Regions from separate parts of the Homo sapiens genome. Here all the other regions are linked to region 3. Evidence: promoter capture Hi-C in human tissues and cell types (Jung and others, 2019). All regions are on one chromosome and are shown on one strand. Each heading gives the region's core, a stretch centred on a gene start or on the middle of the fragment in contact. The rest is flanking DNA. Distances are from core to core; before and after follow the strand shown. Region 1 holds the start of RPL22L1 (ribosomal protein L22 like 1). Region 2 has its middle 110 kb from the start of RPL22L1. Region 3 holds the start of PHC3 (polyhomeotic homolog 3).

Evidence for each region. Contacts are between HindIII fragments. The study calls those that stand out against the background at their distance.
Region 1: the fragment with the promoter of RPL22L1 here is called in contact with the fragment with the promoter of PHC3 in region 3 in 1 of the 25 tissues and cell types used here (mesendoderm cells).
Region 2: a contact is called between a fragment that was not itself captured here and the fragment with the promoter of PHC3 in region 3, in 1 of the 25 tissues and cell types used here (hippocampus).

Annotation. Positions count from the first base shown.
Region 1 is chr3:170,868,904-170,871,603 of GRCh38, forward strand. It overlaps RPL22L1 (ribosomal protein L22 like 1), which reads right to left and starts at 1,292. Exons shown (of 4, transcript NM_001099645.2): 1 at 1,256-1,292. The coding sequence starts at 1,264. RefSeq lists enhancers at 785-834, 1,004-1,730, 1,731-2,456. The HindIII fragment of the contact is 18,698 bases long and covers 1-2,700 here.
Region 2 is chr3:170,757,679-170,760,378 of GRCh38, forward strand. No RefSeq gene overlaps it. Among named protein-coding and RNA genes, the nearest start is that of RPL22L1, 110 kb to the right of the region's middle. The HindIII fragment of the contact is 4,311 bases long and covers 1-2,700 here.
Region 3 is chr3:170,180,466-170,183,165 of GRCh38, forward strand. PHC3 (polyhomeotic homolog 3) reads right to left here and starts at 1,268. Exons shown (of 15, transcript NM_024947.4): 1 at 1,237-1,268. The coding sequence starts at 1,250. RefSeq lists silencers at 733-812, 1,283-1,422. The HindIII fragment of the contact is 20,619 bases long and covers 1-2,700 here.

The DNA of each region.
Region 1 (2,700 bases), core at 42-2,541, 690 kb after region 3:
TGAGGTCAGGAGTTCAAGGCCAGCCTGGCCAACATGGTGAAACCCCATCTCTAGTAAAAATACAAAAATTAGCCAGGTGTGGTGGTGCATGCTTATAATCCTAGCTATTCAGGAGGCTGAGTCGGGAGGATTGCTTGAACCCGGGAGGCGGAGGTTGTAGTGAGCCTGATCATGCCACTATACTCCCACCTGGGCAACAGACTCTGTCTCAAAAAAAAAAAAAAACCTAAAAACCAACACCGTGGAACTTAAATTTTCCATATCCAAACCTTTTATACCAAGACCATATAATATGGCTACATAAGCAAAATGTTACTGTGGCCAGCAACCATGTACATTCACTGCAATATGAACAAACAAATCTGTATTTATCAGACTATAACCTCCAATTTAGATTCACCCAAGTGGCTACCAAGTATTACACATTAGTTTGCTTTCTCAGGTAGCATGGTAACATGTGCCAAAAGATAATTACCCAGTTGGCGCAGAAGTTAATTTGGGAGACACAAACAACTTCTGTCTAATGGAACAGATAACCCTATAGGGTTTATGGCCATGCTGGGCATTACCCAGTTTTGTAGCTAGCCCAGCAATTTTATCCTAACTTTATTTGTAAATTGCGCATGTATATCTAGCTTTTCAGATATTCTTAGGAACATTTTAACATCTTACTGGTTCCCTTACTAATGACTTAAGTAAAACATCTGAAGCACGTTTATTTCACATTGCTGGAATCTAGACTTATACTTTTCTAAAAATTACTTCACCGAGAAACTTCTTCCCCAACTGAAAGTTCTCAAAAACTTGTGATGTCGGCCATCGCGGGAGCTGAGCGCCTAGGAGCTCCCTCTGGCCTGGCAAAGGTCGTCAGACCGGCCCGATTACCCACCATTCCCCTACCCAGTGCTGAGTGGCAAAAGCATTATCAGGCGCGAGATAGTAAAGAAATGGCTCAGATTGCAGTACCACCGGCCCATTTACAGTTGTGCCTCCCTCTTTCCCGCGTGTCCAAAACCACCCATCCTAAACCAATTCCGGGCCCAGCTCCAACTCCACTAGACCTCATGGCAGCTGCCAGGGAGTCTCGAAAAACAGTTCAGGATCCTCGCGTCTTGGTTGTGTTTCTGACCCAGACTTCACTACTCCCCTCCCTTTATCTTGACTGAGACGTCTCCACTCGACAGATGCAAAAATCGTTACAGCGGAAATCATTAAATTGCCACACAACACTCCCACCAAGACATCGCTCACTCACCGGCGCCATCTTGCGAGTCGGCCGCGAGAGCAGAGAGGAAGCTACGGCCGCGCGGTCTGCATTTATATCAAAGCGTGCTGCGTCACGCGCTGAGAGCGTCAGATTGTCGCCTCCCGGAAAAGAAAGCGGGAGGAGCGCTGAGGCCGGTAACCCAGGAAACCAGTGCGCTGCCGGACGAGAGTAGGCCATCGGCTTTCCGCGGGCACACGCGGGTGGCTGTGGTTGAACTGACTCTCGGGTTTCCGCTCCTGGCTGTTCAAGCCGATTAATTGCAGTGGCCTCTACAGTTACCTAGTGGCTGCTCCCGGATACGGACGCACGCGAGGGATGCAGGAGTCATCTTTCACTAATCACCGGAATCCCCTTTCCAATCAGGGCAAGGCAGTGTCTCAGGTTGCTTTGGGATCTCCTTTTATTGCAGTTATAATCCTCCAGCGAAAAAGTTATTTGTTTGTGTTTTGTCTGTGAGCCTCGTTTTCTAAATGACTGTTGAGGGAAATTGGTGCTTCGGGGACCAGGTCCTCGGGAAAAAAAAATCATGTATATATATGCTTACACGCCCACGCCTGTAATCCCAGCACTTTGGGAGGCCGAGGCCGGAGAATCTCTTGAGCCCAGGAGTTCGAGACCACCCTTGGCAGCGTAGGCATAGGGAGAACCCGTCTCTACAAACAATTTTAAAAAAAATGGCCCGCGTGGTGGTGCGCGTCTGTACTCCCAGCCACTCGGGAGGCTGAGGCAGGAGCATCGCTTTACCTTGAGAGGCGGAAGTTGCAGTGAGTCGAGATCGAGCCACTGCACTCCAGCCTGGGTAACAGTGAGACTGTCTCAAAGGGAAAAACACGTAGTGCTTGCTTCTTGTTCATTCGTTTGGTATAATTTATCATGGGTTTTACAGTTAATCCCAGGTCTCTTGATTTCCATCCAAAATGCTCCCAGTTAAAATTCAATGAATGTTTGCTGTGACCTATCAGTATGTACAAGACACACGAGGGTGGAAGTGTCTTGCTGACAAAAGGAAAAAGTAGCTTTTGAGCTTTGAAGGATTGTAAATTGACATCAGATCCGAAAAGTGGCATGCTGAACCGCTTGGGTTTAGCAGTAATATGTTTTCGTGGAGATGAAATTATCATACCTAGGGGTAGGGGTAAGGGATGGGGTGGACTTTGTTGTTAATTTGAAGAATGACCCCAGAAAGTAAGAACTGTTCGTGGCCTTTATGCCAGCAAGTAGTTATCGTGGAAACTATGCTTTAATAGAGCATATGACTTGTAGAGTCTGAAGAGAGGCCCTGAATTCCTAGAAGAAATCCATTTCAACAAGATTTTTTAGTTGTCTGCCTTAAGAGCTACAATAATCACATTTCTCTTTCCAAACATTAAAGGGAGCAATTGGCATTTCCTCCTCAAGGGCTGCCTAAGCTGAGGGGCAGAAATGATTCTATT
Region 2 (2,700 bases), core at 138-2,637, 580 kb after region 3:
CCAAAAACGATTGAAATAAATTAAAATTTAAAAAAATACATGAAAAAAATAAAATGTGTGAAAAATAATAAAATAAAATAAATAGTTCCTTGTACTACATGAGCAGTGTATAATTGAACTGTGTATACAATGTACATGTGTATACAATGTGTATACAATGAACCGCTCGTAAGTGGAGGTAACAAAGCACTTATATTTGGTCTTTCAGGTACAAATCCCATATTTAGGCCTAAAGAAGCTTCAGGAGGTTTCCTGATACTCTGCTTCATATATCTCCTTGATCTAGCTTTTCTCCTATCTTTTATTGTTAATTTAGTTCAGCTTAGTTTTTAAATAGAAAAGTGATTCATGTTCACTAAAGAAAACGGTAATTTTTCAGAAAGAATAGAAACCTCCTTTAATTGCTTACGACTCAGAGGCAACCGCTTTACCATGTTTCCTTCTAATCTCTTTTAATACTTTTCTTATGCAATTGGCTGCATTTTCTTCACACATACAATGTTGTATCTGTTGTTAGTTAACATGCTGAGTGTTTTTGATGCCATTCAAATACTTCATAAGCATAACTTTTCATATCCACATAATATTCCGTCTTACAGATATGTGACTTATGTTTAGCTTCTGTCTATTGTCGTTCATTTACCATGTATATTTTCACTTCCAAACTGCCTTCTTTTATGCCTGAATATCTTGAAAATTGATTTTTTTCCTCACGTTTCCTCCTCCTTTTTTGCTCACTGACGTCTTTCTGATTTTCTCCCTCTCTTTATCCTGCTTCTCCCAGTCTCACCTTTATAAATTTACATTTATAACATGTTTTCCTAACATGAGTTTTGCATTTAAAAAGTGTTTTCTCACATTCATCACCTTATTTGGTGTCCACAATAACCCTCTGGAATAAGCAGGGGAAGTAGAAACTAAAATTCAGAGAAGTGATTTTCCCAAAGGCACTTAACCCAGATGACTCTTAATTCACTGTCTATACCAGACCACTCTATATGATGGTTCTTTTGGACATGTTTTTATTTTTATTCTTTATTTTTTGGACACATGTTCTTAAAAGCTACACAAGATTCATATAGGTTTAAAAAATAGCTTTTCATTGTTCATGTTTATAACATAGTTGATACATCTGGCATATAATAATCCTTATAGGTTCTACCAAAAGTTTAAAACATAAGGAATAATGAACTAATGGGCACCATCAAGCTCTGGCAAGGATCTCACAGGGGCATAAAATAGTTATGTGTGGTCTTTCACATCTTCTCAGCAGTTTCTCCAAATACTGCACTGCCTCAACATAGAATTCCCCACCATGCTTTTGAACTGACTCCACCCCCACCTTTTTTTTTTTTTTTTTTTTTGAGATGGAGTCCGCTCTGTTGCCCAGGCTGGAGTGCAGCGGCGCGATCTCAGCTCACTGCAAGCTCCGCCTCCCGGGTTCAAGCGATTCTCCTGCCTCAGCCTCCTGAGTAGCTGGGACTAAAGGTGTGCGCCACCACGCCCGGCTAATTTTTTTATTTTTAGTACAGACGGGGTTTCACCATGTTGGCCACAATAGTCTCAATCTCTTGACCTCGTGACCCGTCCGCCTCGGCCTCCCAAAGCGCTGGGATTACAGGTGTGAACCACCGTGCCCGGCTCACCCTTTTTTTTAAAGATAAACAAAATACTAATTTGCTAATGAGTATATTGGAGATTGTCTCCTGTGACCTCAGTCATATTAAATTCTCTCCCTGAAGGGGACTAATACTCCTCACAACCACCCCATTAGCCCTGTCTTCCCATGTTTAAAAATCAGCTTTGTTCAATTATGAGGTCAGGTTTCCCCTTTGTGCAGGTCTTCCTGAAACCAGCGGGCTTCCTGAGGAATGTGAAGAGAACCAGGTCACCTGGGATTTCTTCCTTCCTCAGAAGGTCTCCCCAAGTCAACATCGCCTCTGAATTTTCTATTTCCTTTTGGCAAATAAAAGAAAAAGTAAGTAAAACATCTTAGTCTATGCATGACCAAAGGTTAAACCTTTATTGCTTCATTTTGATTGTATCAGCTTTTCAGGACAATGTTTTCAAGGCCAGAGCTTATTTTAATAGCTGTAATAATACCAGTATTTTCTGATAATAATGGCAAACACTTTTTTTGGCAAGCACTTTTAGTGTTTGTTGTGGTTGTGTGCCAGGCATGGTTCTCAGCAGTTTTCACTAATTCATTTCATCTTCACAACAACCCTATAAGGTAAATTTTATTATCGCCCTTTCTACAGATTGGCAAATGAGGCACAAGTGGTTTGGCTTGCCCCTAAACTACATAGACAGCAAAAGACTGAGGGAGAATTTGGGGAAGACAGTCTTGCTCCAGTTCATGCTCTTATTCACGGCACTGTGCTGACCTCTCAGTCACCACGCTATTTACTTTACATACATTGTCTTATTTAATCTTCACACAGTGTATGTTTTATTATTTATCTCTATTTTACAGGTGAGGAATGAAGCTCAGTGGTGTTTAGCAGTTTGGCCAGATTCCACTCTGGCAAGCTCAGTGAGACAGAACCAATTTCCCTTTCTGTTTCTTTTAGTAGATAAAGCCATTGACCCAGCGATGAGGCAACTCAGAAAATGCTCAGAATACCAATCATAGGATCTCCCTAAAAATCAAGTGATGTGGTCAAGAAACAAAGCCTAAATAGAGCTTCTCTGCCACTC
Region 3 (2,700 bases), core at 18-2,517:
AAAATAAGAGGAAAAGTGAAAGGAAAACCGTCAGGAAGAAAGCTGACTCCTCACTTACTTTTTGGATTAGTAAATAATTCATACATTTTTATGCTTCTGTTTTTTTTTTTTTTTTCCAAACTGCCTTCCAATCAAATCACAGCATCATATGGTAACTGTTCAACATTATACAGTATTAGTGGTAGGTAAGGTAAACTTTTTACCGAACTGCTGCCTGTCATACTACTACCGTATCGTGTACCAGTGACATGCAAAAGGCCAGCTTAAGTTCTGGTTTTTTAAAAGTGTTAATCTGCTCAACTATGCCCTCCAATCCAAACAGTATGGTAAACAGTTCTAACTCCTAACCAAAAATGGTCACAGAGAATCCAAATTCTCGGCATAAGTCTAAACATCGGTTGAGCGGAACTGGCCAAACCATCGCACTGCATTTCGAGGCCTGGCACAAAAGAACAACTTTGGTAACTCCACCGTCTAGGCATACTAATACCTGCAAAATACAGCCAGCAGTTCTGGTGCACAAGAGGCCTACCCAGGAAACAGTAAGTTCTGGAGTCGTTAACTAAACATACCGTCACACCGACACACAAGAATGTGGCCCGCGTGTGAGGCAGCAACGCTGCACCCAGAGAATCGAGGGAAAGACCTTTCTTTCAGGGTGTTTTCAGCCTCACCAGACCTGCAAGCAGCCCCCGCCGCTCTCAGGCCCACGCCGGGATGCCTCCGGCACGAGGGAAGCGGGCAGCCCCGCGTGTCGGATTCTCCCGCTGAGGAGGAGTGGGGTGGCGCCGGGGCGGGAAGGAGAAGAAGGCGAAGGAGGCCTGGCAGTGCCCGCCCTGCCCTACCCAGCCTCCGCGGGCCCCTGCGCAGGCAGCCGTAACAAGGCTGCCCGCGGGGCCCACTTGCAGGAATGACAGCGCCTGAGGAGCCCACCCGGGCTCGTTCCCCGGAAAACCCCAGCTCCCGGAGTCCCAAGGGTGACCCTGCGCGCAGGGCCGCGCAGATCCGGGACCTGATGGCGGAAGGGGCGCTCCTGCCTGGAGGGTAACTGGACCCTAGAGTTCGTCTTCGCCCCGCGACACGGGCCTAGCCGGCTCCTCCACGATAGGACGGGTCTCGAGTCTCTCTTTCCCCACACTGCCCGCAAAAGAGCCCTGAGCTTTCCCCTGGGGGAACGTGTCGCTGCCCCAACTCGCCCCCCCTAGTTACGACATCAGTCACCATCTAGTCACTCACTCCGCTTCCGCCATCTTCTCTCCTCCATCACTAACATGGGCTGCGCATGCGCCCCCCGGCGGCGGGCGGAGAGGCGGGGTCGGCTCAGCCCCCGGAGCCAGAGGTCACGTGGCGTCCTCAGCTTCCAATCGCCCCCGCCCACCATAGGAATTGCTCTTTCTGGAAAGTGACCAGATTTCCCCCACTAAGATAACCAGTGTCTCCTCTCCAAACCCCTCTCTTTCTCTCCTCCAGGATCTTCCTCTTGGGGAGATATCTGTAATAAAGATATAAAAAGTTATCTTAGATTGTTAAATTTAAAATTTAAAGAATATGGGCGCGGTGGCTCACCTGTAATCCCAGCACTCTGGGAGGTTGAGGAGGATCTCTTGAAGCGAGGAGTTCAGGACCAGCCTTGACAATAAAGTGAGACCCTGACTCTACCAAAAAAAAGCCCAACAATAATAATAATAATAATAATAATTTTGAAGAATATCTAAAATATACCAAAGCCTATGCAAACTGCAGAGTGGTTTCAAAGAAAATACCCACGAGGATTAGAGGCTGAGGTCTCAGGGAGAAAGGAAATTCAGGGCTGGCTGCAGGGCTTGTTGCCTGGGAGCTTTGGGGCTTGAGGGTCCCAACCAGCAGTACCTCTCTCCAGCTGAAAGATAGTGTTCAGATGCCAGTGAATGAGTGGTTAAGGAATCATCCTGACTACCCTAGGCATATCATTCATGTCTTCAGTATGAATTTGCTGAGCGCTTAGTAGGAATTGCAAACTTGAACACCACAAGGAACAAGCAGGAACAGCCACCAGTTTGCTAGTGTAGTCTGCTAAATGCCAACAACTCAGGTGTGTGAGACAAACATATAAAGATAAGTAAAATAACACATTTAAATATAAATATGAAATAATAAAGATGAGTCCTTGTCTTCCAAGAAGTAGCGGAGCGGGTTTTATAGACATTTGCATACAATATAATGTGTTCTGAAGACCGGGACGATGGCTCACCCTCATAATACCAGCACTTTGGGAAGTGAAGTTGGGAGGATTGCTTGAGCCCGGGAGTTTGAGACCACCCTGGGCAACATGGGGAAATCCCATCTCTACAAAAAATACAAAAATTATCCGGATGTCGTGGCGCGCACCTGTCATCCCAGCTACTCAGGAGGCTGAGGAAAAAGTGTTCTGAAACAGATCTATTAAGTGCTTTGGAAAGTTTAAAGTTCAAGGTGTATAATAAATCTTTACCTCCCTTTACAGGAAAAAAAAAGCATACGAACCATAAACAATGTCTCTTTTTGCATTTTGTGAGGTGATGGAGTCACAATAATTTCAAGAACTGAGAATGAAGTATTGATATAAATCCATCCGGAAGTGTAATATGGTCTGATGAAAAGTATACTTAGTCTTAGAAATCCTATATGCCAGGATGTGCCTAAGGAAGGGAAAAGAACACTTCCCATCTATGTGAGCTTAAA